4 separate regions of the Homo sapiens genome follow, and all the other regions are linked to region 1. The links are contacts of gene promoters, found by promoter capture Hi-C in blood cells and fetal thymus (Javierre and others, 2016). All regions are on one chromosome and are shown on one strand. Each heading gives the region's core, a stretch centred on a gene start or on the middle of the fragment in contact. The rest is flanking DNA. Distances are from core to core; before and after follow the strand shown.

Region 1 (2,700 bases), core at 112-2,611:
ACAGCCTGATAAAAAGTGAAGCTCTGATAGTCAAGGACAACTACAGTCAAATACCAATCTATCTCCCCAATCACTCAAACACAATGAGATGTAATTGCTTTCATATTCCACTCTGAAAAGGGGAAAAAAACTAACACTATAAAGAGTTGGAAATCCCACAAGCAAAGTGACAAGCAAACACTGAATTTACACAAATGTGTACAATCTAAAGTACAAAATATGCGTCAGCAGTGGATCAAAATAAAGCACAAAAAACTCGCGAAACAACGAAAGAACCAGACTGTAAGACAAAAATGGCATACAATGAAAAGAGAAAAAAATGAAAAGAAACAAAGAGGCCACATTGTGGACACAATATCGTAACTTCTGACCAGATTATAAACTTTTAAAATTTTGCTTTTATTAAAAATTAATTGAAAAAAATTTATAAAGCATGTTTCTATGCAAGAATTACTCTCAAGAACACAACGATTACGTAAAAAATAGGCAAGAAACAACATACTGTTTCAAAATACAAATATATGTAGTAACTATAAAGAAAAGTAGTGAAATTATAAATACAAAACTTAGATAATGTTTGCTTCTTAAGGTTTCCTGAAAGTTCAAAGAAGGTAACACAGGGCTTTCAAAGGCTATGTTTTATTTCTTAAAACTACAAAATGGGTAAACGAGAATTCCTGAAACTGTTCATCTTTACACTTGAAATGTGCTTTAGTAACACTCTTTTGTATCTACTCAGTTTTTAATAAAAACAACAAAACTGCTTCAGTGCCCTGGAGCGAATGGGGGCGTAACGGCAGGATTCAGGGCACTAACGAGAGGTGAACGGACGCCGAGGAAGAGGCGACTAAGCCCACATACTGAGTCTACCCAGGCCAGAGAGGCAGAGGTGTGTAGGGCCAGCGATCTCAGAAGTTTTGCCAAACTCCTCGATGCGTTACAATGGAAAGGTGCCGGGTTTCCCCCAGGAAGTAGTGACTAGCGAGAAGTTAGGCACAAGGCAAAGAGGAGCAAGGCGACGTGTGAGCACTTCAGCACTCGGACGCGGAACTCTAAGGTCCAGGCGTTGGGCCTGGGACTCGCCTCCCAGAGGCTTCGCCCCGCACCCCGCACACTCCCTGAAAATAAACACTTTGCATCCTCCCCTCTCCTAGGTTCCCGAAACCGCACCCTCCCTCTCTGCCTGCTCAACAAGAGCCTTCCGGGGAACCAACCGAGCGGTTCGGGGGAGCAGGAGGGGGCCCACCATGGTGACGTCCTCGTGGCCACGGAGCAGCTCCGCACTCTAGACCCAGGTAATCTCACCAACCGCAGGAGCAGCAGCTCACAAGAGCACCCGGGCCGAATCCCACGTGGCGCCTGAGAAGCCCGCGCCGACCCAACCGGAACAGGAGAGGCGAGTGCGTTTCTCTAAAGCGTCCCCGTTAACTGAGACCGCGTCTTTTTCGCCCGTGTTGGGCTTTTAAGCTCTAGCCCAACGGACAGCCAGACCTGCGTGCTCGCCGGGAGCGGCGGAAGGGAGCTTGCGGCGGGAGGCTGAACTCTGCCTGGTGCTGAGTGCGAGGCTGGGGATTGGAGCCCGGGTGGAGACGCTACACGCTTCCGGCCCCAAGAGCGGAGCTTGCCCATCTGTCCCAGAGCACGACTCCAGAGCGCAGCAACCTCTTCAGACAAGAGGTTCCCTCTTGCGGGCTCCCGCATCTCAGGGGCTGGGACCCTCTCAAAAGGGCCGCTCGGTGTTGGCTCCCCGGAGCTCTTGCACGGCACAGGCTCCTGCCCTCCGCTTTTCCACGTACTAGATTACCTTGGGCAAGTCCTTTCCTGCACTGAGTCTTTTTTTGCCCTGCCCTGCCCTGCCCTGCCCTGCCCCGCCCCGCCCCTCTTCTCTTTCCTTTCTTTTCTTTTCTTCTTTCCCTCTTTCCCGCCTTCCCTCATTCCCTCTTTCTTTCTTCCTCCCGGGTTCAAGCGATTCTCCTGCCTCAGCCTCCCGAACAGCTGGAATTACAGGCCTCCGCCACCACGCCCGGCTAATTTTTTTTTTTTTTTTTTTTTTTTGTATTTTTAGTAGAGACGGGGTTTCGCCGTGTTGGCCAGGCTGGTCTCGAACTCCTGATCTCAGGTGATCCGTCCGCCTCGGCCTCCCAAAGTGCTGAGATTACAGGCCTGAGCCACCACGCCCGGCCGAGTCTTAGTTTCTTTATCCGGAAAGGCCACTTCCTCATATTCAAGGCCTCTGCCAACCCAGTTTTTGTTTTCTTCTCACAGCATGTGAGAGTCTTTGTTTCACCCATACATGTTAGAATTCCGTAGACAATGTAATCATTCAAAAACTATTTATTGAATGCCTACTGTGTGCCTGGTACTGGGGATACTCCAACAATATCCCTCACTCAGCTCATTTTCCAGGGGATGGAGGCATGTAAAAATATTATTTCAAATAATATAAGTACTCTAATAAAAATTAGCTGGCGGGGGCATGTAGAAAAGCTGTTTTACACATGGTGGTCTCTATAAAGTCCTCTTTTAGAAGTGATAATTGAGCAGAGACCGGAATTGTAAGAGAAAACTAGGCATGGGAAGAAGCTCCAGGCAGGGTGAAGCTGGTGTGCCTTGATATGTGTGTGCAGCTGTTAACAGTTGAGGGTAGTTGGCTAGGTCCTTGGCGTTTTGAACAAATAATTGGACAAAACACACAAATAA
Region 2 (2,700 bases), core at 61-2,560, 1.0 Mb after region 1:
TAAAAATTATTTTATAAAGACATGATTACTACAGTCAAGCACATTAACATATCCATCTCCTCACACAGTTAACGTGTATGTGTGTGTGTGTGTGTGTGTGTGTGTGTGTGCGCGCGTGTGTGTGTGTGGTGGGAGCAACTAAAATCTACTCCTTAGCAAATTTCAATATGCAATACAGTATTATTAATTGCAGTCATCACACTGCACCTTACATATCTAGACTTATTTGTCCTACATAACTGCAACCTTGTACCCTTGACAAACACTGCCCCATTTCCCTTTCCTCCCGTCCCCTGCTAACCACCTTTTTACTTTGCTTCCGTGAGTCCAACTTTTATGGAGTCCACATGCAAATGAGATCAGGAAGTAGTTTTCCTTCCATTTCTGGCTTATTTCATCTAGCACAATGTCTTCCTGGATCATCCAGGTTGTCATAAATGGCAGGATCTCCTTCTTTGTAAAGGCTAAATAATATTCTATTATATGTATATATACACATATACAATACACACATATTTTATATATAATATATATGCTATATAGTATGTAATATAGAATGACAATATATGTAATATACAATATATGTATATTATATATGTATTATTTCTTTATACATTTATATATATGTATTAGTCTGTTCTCATGCTGCTAATATATACATACACAAGACTGGGTCATTTATAAAGGAAAGAGGTTTAATTGACTCACAGTTCCACATGGCTGGGGAGGCCTCACAATGATGGCTGAAGGTGAATGAGGAGCATCTTTTTTTTTTTTTTTTTTGAGATGGAGTCTCGCTCTGTCACCAGCGCTGGGGTGCAGTGGTGCGATCTCTGCTCACTGCAAGCTCTGCCTCCCAGGTTCATGCCATTCTCCTGCCTCAGCCTCCCAAGTAGCTGGGACTAAAGGTGCCTGCCACCACGTCCGGATAATTTTTTTTTTTTTTGGATTTTTAGGAGAGCTGGGGTTGCACCATGTTAGCCAGGATGCTATCAATCTCCTGGCCTCGTGATCTGCCCACCTCGGCCTCCCAAAGTGCTGGGATTACAGATGTGAGCCACCGTGCCCGGCCAAGCATCTTACATGGAAACAGACAAGAGGGTATGTGCAAGGCAACTGTCCCTTACAACACCACCATATCTCATGAGACTTATTCACTACCATAAGAACAGCACTGAAAGACCCACCCCCATGATTCAATTACCTCCTACCAGGTCCCTCTCACGATATGTAGGTATTATGGGAGCTACAATTCAACATGAGATTTGGGTGAGAACACAACCAAATCATATCATTCAACTGCGGCCCCTCCCAAATTTTATGTCCTCACATTTCAGAAACACAATAATGCCTTCCCAACAGTCCCCCAAAGTCTTAATTCATTCCAAATTTACTCAGAAGTCCAAGTCCAAAGTTTCATCTGAGACAAAGCAAGTTTCTTCCACCTATGAGCCTGTAAAAAACAAAACAAAACAAAACAAAAAACCAGTAACTTACTTCCCAGATACAGTGGGAGTACAGACATTGGGTAAATACAGCCATTCCGTATGGGAGAAATTGGCCAAAACAAAGGGGCTACAGGGCCCATGCAACTTCAAAATCCATTAAGGCAGTCATTAAACCTTAAAGTTCCAACGTGATTTCCTTTGACTCCATTTCTCACATCCAGGTCACGCTGATGGAAGAGATAGACTCCCATGGCCTTGAGAAGCTCCACCCCTGTGGCTTTGCAGGGTATCACTCCCCTCCTGGCTGCTTTCATGGGCTAGTGTTGAGTGTCTGTGGCTTTTCCAGGCAGATGGTTCAAGCTGTCAATGGATCTACCATTCTGGAGTCTAGAGGTTGGTGACCTCCTCTCACAGCTCTGCTAGGCAGTGCCCCAGTTGGGAATCTGTTTGGGGGCTTCCATCCACATTTCCCTTCTATACTGCCCTAGCAGAGGTTCTCCATGAAAGCCCCACCCCTGCAGCAAACGTCTGCCTGGACATCCAAGTGTTTCCATATATACTCTGAAATCTGGGTGGAGGTTCCCAAACCTCCATTCTTGACTTCTGTGCACCCAAAGGCCCAACACCACACATAACCCACCAAGGCTTGGGGCTTGCACCCTCTGAGTCAATAGCCTGAGCTGTATGTTGGCCCCTTTTATTCATGGCTGGGAGCTGAAGCAGGCTGGGATGCAGGGCACCGTGTTTGGAGGCTGCATAAAGCAGGGGGGCCCTGGGCTGAGCCCATGAAACCATTTCTCCCTCTTAGGCCTTCAGGCCTGTGATGAAAGGGGCTGCCACAAAGGTCTCTGACACAACCTGGAGATGTTTTCCCTGTTACCTTGGTGATTAGCATTTGACTGCTCGTTACTTATGCAAATTTTGGCAACATGCTTGAATTTCTTCCTAAAAAATGTTTTTTTTTCTTTTTTACTGCATTGTCAGGCTGCAAATTTTCCAAACTTTTATGATCTATCACCTCTCAAATGCTTTGCCACTTAGAAATTTATTCCACCAGGTACCCCAAATCATCTCTCTCAAGTTCAAAGTTCCACAGATCTCTAGGCCAGGAGCAAAATTCTGCCAGCATCTTTACATAGCAAGAGTGACCTTTACTTTAGTTCCCAACAAGTTCCTCAACCCCATCTGAGACCACCTCAGGTTGAATTTTATTGTCCATATCACTATCAGCATTTTGGTCAAAGACATTCAA
Region 3 (2,700 bases), core at 198-2,697, 1.2 Mb before region 1:
TTGGAAAGACAGAGACAGGTGCTGGGAGGATCAGGATGATCATGAGCATTTAAAGTAGAGAGAGAGATAGACAGGGAAAAGGGATGCAAAGTGTTAAAAGGTATGGAGAAAGGAGGAAAGGTGATTAGATGCATTGGAGGAGAATGAAGCCTGTGAATTCAGCCTGGTCCCTAAAAGATCTATAGGATTTCAACAGATGATAAAGAAGACAAAGAGAATGTAGTCGGATGGGATATTCAGAGCAAAAGTTGAAAGATGTGAAGGTACATTCTGCATTCAGGAGATAGTGTCCCCTGGAGAGGCTCCCACAAGGCATAGTGAGGGCAGTGGGAGGAGTGAGGCAATGGGGGAATCTAGGCTCTAGGCTCGGGAGGGCTGAGATCATGTTACTCAGAGGCTTTAGAAGGAGGCCTTAACAAGGAGCGAGAACAGTAGGCACAAGTTTGGGGTTCCTGAGTAGAAAACGTCAAGCGGTTCAAAGCAGCTTTTTCATGTCTGTAAGACCAAAGCCTCCAACACCTTGCCTGGAACTGTGGTTCTTAGATGTGCAGTTTTTCTTTCTGAGCTACAGCACTGCGCCAAGTGTGAATCCAGGTAGAAAAACAGAAATACCACTCTGCTGTCTTGAATTACAGGACAATTTTCACACATGCTCTATGGGGAGTATCCCATTGGTCAGACTGGCTGAAGGACTAAGCAGAGAAAGAAGGGAAAAAAAGTTAATTTGTTGTTAGAGGATTCTAGAAGCATAGGCTTTGGCAGGTTTTAAAAGGAAAATTTACAGCTTTAATAAAACTGATAAAGCCATCCTAACTTTTATGTGGTGAATATGATTTGATATTCACTGAAGATAAATTAGACATGGTGAGTTTCCCCAGGGCTCCTGCTGGAGACTAAAATGGTATTGTCTGAAATGAACTCAAAGAATCATCTTTGGAGTTAGATGCGGGCAAATTTGAAGAGATAAGGACCAGGCTAAGAGTTCAAGCATGACGTGAACAAATATGAAATAGAATTTAAGTCAAACGGTGTTCAGTGTTTTTTAGGTATCATTGTGCATACAAAAATCCAGAGGAAAGCAGGAGCAGGCTCAGAGGGGCCTTAGCTGGCTTACTTCCAGAATCACAGGCTCCATTGAGTCCCATGATGTCTGACCCCTATTCTTATTGGGCCATACGTTCGTTTAGTTAAAACAGGATATAGAACCATGTGCAATTGCATCTTATTTATCTCTCCAGATCCAGCAAGAAGATAATTTGCACATAATGACAGATTGGCTCAGGTATCTAGCCCCAAATAGAGGGTCTGGTTGTGATCCATCATCATGACATTTCAGCTTTAACAAATATGGCTGCTCACAGAGGACACAATACATGAGTGAAAGTGGAGGGACAGAATTTTTTGGAGCCATCCATCAATAAGAAAAAGGATGGAGGGTTTTTATGGAATACGACCTTCATCAGTTAGCAGTGGCATGAGTTTTACCTCAAACCCTATTAAAATCCTTTTTTAAAAAACAATTAAGCTATTTTATTGAATATATCATAGTTGTCATAAAGTTCATACATTTCACTTTTTGATACCCTAATGTATTTCCATGAACCTTTAAGTCTACAATTTTATAGATATAGTTTTCCATCCAATAAGCCAGAGGTAGATAATTTTTTTTACATGTAACTAATTAAAGGCTTTACAAGAGGTTAGGCTGTAAAAAGTTACAGTTTTGCCATAACACCACCGAAAGACACTTAATTAGGAAAGAGTTTTTTTCTACATTATTTCTTAGTCTTATAAAATGGTAAATTTTAACCAAATTGATACCTTTGTACTCTTATTTGTTTCCTATACTCTTAAATCATACTGCTTGGCAAGCGATATAAGTATTGATATAATTTTTAAATTCAATTAGTTGTAAACAAACTCTGATTTGTTAATAAGTGCATGTATTTCCCTTTAACCACCTACTATACTACCTCAGAATTAATCCTCCTATAAAAACCCTCCCACATAGAAAAAATAATGCAGAGCTTCATCTCTTCCTCAGAGATTTTCATATATTATAGGAATACAAATCCATAAAAAAGGATTAAAAATTGACATTTCATCTTGCCTTACTAATTATGAGATAATAGAGATGTGACAAAAACAAATGTTCCTTAATGTTTTTCTGCCTAACATAATATTATACTAAGAAATACTGCAATTATGTTGGTGAGCTATTTTCCAGCTTCTCCAAGTATAGGACACAACTATGGTTCTATCAGCGAGGAGAAATGAATAATCTATCTTACATAACTCAAAAGAACGATGGGAGGCACAAAAAGGTGAACTGACTTTGGCTTTTAAGAACCTGATGTTGATCCTGAAATGCCAGATTCAACAACACAACAAAACAAAAGATTACAGCAGCAAGATACCACTTTGCCACACATTATTAAGAATTCTGAAATAAGCAATAGCTCAGTCACTCAATCTGTTGTATCTTCTGTTTGTTTTTCTTGCCTTTTGGTTGCAGGCAATTCAAGGTGTGCCTATTGCATAGGACCAGCTATTCTTACTGTGCTCTCTGTCTGCATTGCAGTCATAGCTACCTAACTTCACTTTTCAACAATCACAATCCATAATTTTGCATTTTGATGAAATTTCTTCTCTTCTTCAAATACAATGCGTTGGTTTTGTTGTTGATGTTGTTGTTGAGAC
Region 4 (2,700 bases), core at 91-2,590, 1.3 Mb before region 1:
TTTCATCACAGCTATTCTCCATTGCATTTTTCTTCTTTTTTTTTTTTTTGAGATGGAGTCTCACTCTGTCACCAGGCTGGAGTGCAGTGGCACGATCTCAGCTCACTACAACCTCCGCTTCCCGGGTTCAAGCGATTCTCCTGCCTCAGTCCCCCGAGTAGCTGGGACTACAGGTGTGTGCCACCACGCCTGGCTAATTTTTTGTATTTTTAGTAGAGATGGGGTTTCACCATGTTGGCCAGGATGATCTCAATTTCCTGACCTCGTGATCCGCCTGCCTCAGCCTCCCAAAGTGCTGGGATTACAGACGTGAGCCACCGTGCCTGGCTACATTTTTTTGTTATTGTTTGTCTGTCTTTCCCCATTAAAGTTCTATGAAAGCAGTCTGCTTTGTTTATCTCCGTACCTATAGGGCTTAGAAAAATGACGGGCATATAGTACATTTTCCCATAAGTATTCACTGAGTGACCATAAACGAGTGGATGCAAGCAGCACCGAAGAAGGCAAGTTGATGCAAAACTCTGAATTTCACAGCTGTGAATGGAAACTCTGGATTGAAGATGTATTTGGAAATCTCAGCGGCATCAAGCACTCTATTACTTGAGAAAATCCCACCCAGAGGACAAGAAGTATATTTTGAAAATGGCTTTAAGGTTTCCATAAAACAGGCAGCATGGTTGGGATTGATGGTTTTTCTTGCTGCTGTTATTGCCCTCACGGGGGAGATGTGTTTCTTTTCCTTTGTTACTTTATTTTTCTGTCTCATGGCTGCTGACAGAGCTCACTGCTCTCTTTGTGCACCATCCGTTCATTCTCTCGCGGCTCCCTTGAGTGCTGTTATGATTGCTCGGGGACAGCATGGAACATGCTCTTCTTATTGAGTCTCCTTCCTATTGTAGATGCTGTGTGCATGCATCAAGGGCCAAGGGGACTAGGTAAAATGACTGCCTTCATCTAAAGAAAAATCTGCCAGAGTAAAAATAAAGGGCTTATTTACAGGAAGTAAATGCACTTTTCTGGGCAGTGGGAATTTAGTGTTTTGAATTCTTATAGCCTGCTACATTAGAAAACTATGGGCTGAAAAAAATCTGTGAGATACTGCAGTGCCCACTCCCCCCTTGCCTTCAAAGGCCTTGTGGAAAAAGTCTAAAGGCTACTAACCAACGTGCATGCCACTTCTGTTGCTTCCTGGATTTATCTGCCTTTTTTTTTTTTTTTTTTCTGAGACAAAGTATCCCTTCCTTCTTTAAAAATTCTGAACAAGACTCACCTGCTGCATTGAATGCTTATCTAATTTAAATAATCTGAAACCAGTGGCACTTTTTTCCGTTTTATCTGTAGGAGGGTGGTTCTGTCATGGTGTAAATCCTGTCTACTAAACAAAGCCTTGAATTATCCCGTCCATCTGTGAAATGCCAACAACGCTCATTAGTCTCTGCATATGGTTTCTGAATTATGTATTCACCTTGAAGGCTCATACAGGCAGAAAACTGTTTTTCTTATTTACTCCCTGACACCAAGTACTTGGCAAATCACGCTTGCTGAATGACAAATGATGTGTCCCAGCTCCTGTCAATGCTGTTCCTACTTGACATTTCAACCTGCTACATGTCTCTTTGATTTTCTCAATCTTTCTTTTTGGATGGATCCTCTATCATGTTGCCTTCCTCTGTTTCTTTGGGCAACTCCATGTCTCAAGTCTTCTTCTGGTCAAACTCTGAACAAAAAGCCATCTTGTCCTTGAGAACTTTCCTCCAAATAAAATTTCAGGTTTGGAAAGAAAATCAAAAATCACCTTGTCCAGACACCATACAATGATTGAATTTTCCCTAAACTGTTTTGGTGAAATAGATGGCCAGCCTGAATTCCTCTAGTGATGAGGAACTCACTGTCATTGGAGGCAATCTGTTTAATCTCTGGATAACCCTGCTCTTTAGAAAACTCTATATCAGCTAAAATTCTGTTCTTTTTAACTATTACCATGTGATTCCTAAATACAGAACTAAAAAGTTCTCCTTTTATGAGAGGGATCCTCAAATATTTGAAGACCAGGAATTTGTCATGTTGCCTGGGCTTTCTTTCCTTTGTCTAGACAAATATTCTTCTTATGACATAATTCTGTGTCCTTTGTCCCTTTTGATTTCTCTCCTTTACTTCCAAATCCCTCTAAAGTGGAGTAACCAAGCTGAAGGCAATATTTTGAATTAGGTTGACTGGATTCCAGTAAGGCAACAACAGCACCCACCACATTTTTTTCTATTTTTTTCTTTTTTTTTTTTTGAGATGGAGTCTCGCTCTGTCGCCAGGCTGTAGTGCAGTGGCGCGATCTTGGCTCACTGCAACCTCCGCCTCCCAGGTTCGAGCAATTCTCCTGCCTCAGCCTCCCGAGTAGCTGGGACTACAGGCACACGCCACCACGCTCAGCTAATTTTTGTATTTTTAGTAGAGACAGGATTTCACCATGTTGGCCAGGATGGTCTTGATCTCTTGACCTCATGATCTGCCCGCCTCGGCCTCCCAAAGTGCTGAGGTTACAGGTGTGAGCTACTGTGCCCTGCCACACCCACCACATTTTAACTCAATGGTCTGCCAATGGTCTGGTTGCCGGTCAGGCCTCATTTAAAAAAACATATAGGGCAATCCATGCCTCCAATGATAGTGAGTTCCTCATCACTAGAGGAATTCAGGCTGGACAGCTAT

Evidence for each region. Contacts are between HindIII fragments. The CHiCAGO score rates a contact against its expected background, and 5 or more counts as called.
Region 2: a fragment that was not itself captured here is called in contact with the fragment with the promoter of TMA16 in region 1 in 1 of 17 cell types (M2 macrophages); the score reaches 5.2 in M2 macrophages.
Region 3: a fragment that was not itself captured here is called in contact with the fragment with the promoter of TMA16 in region 1 in 8 of 17 cell types (naive B cells, naive CD8 T cells, total B cells and 5 more); the score reaches 14.9 in naive B cells.
Region 4: a fragment that was not itself captured here is called in contact with the fragment with the promoter of TMA16 in region 1 in 1 of 17 cell types (endothelial precursors); the score reaches 6.2 in endothelial precursors.

What each region holds. Positions count from the first base shown.
Region 1 is chr4:163,493,351-163,496,050 of GRCh38, reverse strand. TMA16 (translation machinery associated 16 homolog) reads right to left here and starts at 1,361. Exons shown (of 7, transcript NM_018352.3): 1 at 1,247-1,361. The coding sequence starts at 1,249. LOC124900805 (a long non-coding RNA gene) reads left to right here and starts at 827. Exons shown (of 2, transcript XR_007058354.1): 1 at 827-889; 2 at 1,155-2,700. RefSeq lists enhancers at 785-934, 965-1,104, 568-1,470. The HindIII fragment of the contact is 17,381 bases long and covers 1-2,700 here.
Region 2 is chr4:162,492,753-162,495,452 of GRCh38, reverse strand. No RefSeq gene overlaps it. Among named protein-coding and RNA genes, the nearest start is that of FSTL5, 330 kb to the right of the region's middle. The HindIII fragment of the contact is 9,946 bases long and covers 1-2,700 here.
Region 3 is chr4:164,726,475-164,729,174 of GRCh38, reverse strand. It overlaps the pseudogene CHORDC1P3. Among named protein-coding and RNA genes, the nearest start is that of SMIM31, 26 kb to the left of the region's middle. RefSeq lists an enhancer at 1,371-1,540. The HindIII fragment of the contact is 5,791 bases long and covers 1-2,700 here.
Region 4 is chr4:164,764,146-164,766,845 of GRCh38, reverse strand. All of the region lies in intron 1 of SMIM31 (small integral membrane protein 31), which reads right to left. Among named protein-coding and RNA genes, the nearest start is that of SMIM31, 11 kb to the right of the region's middle. The HindIII fragment of the contact is 3,677 bases long and covers 1-2,700 here.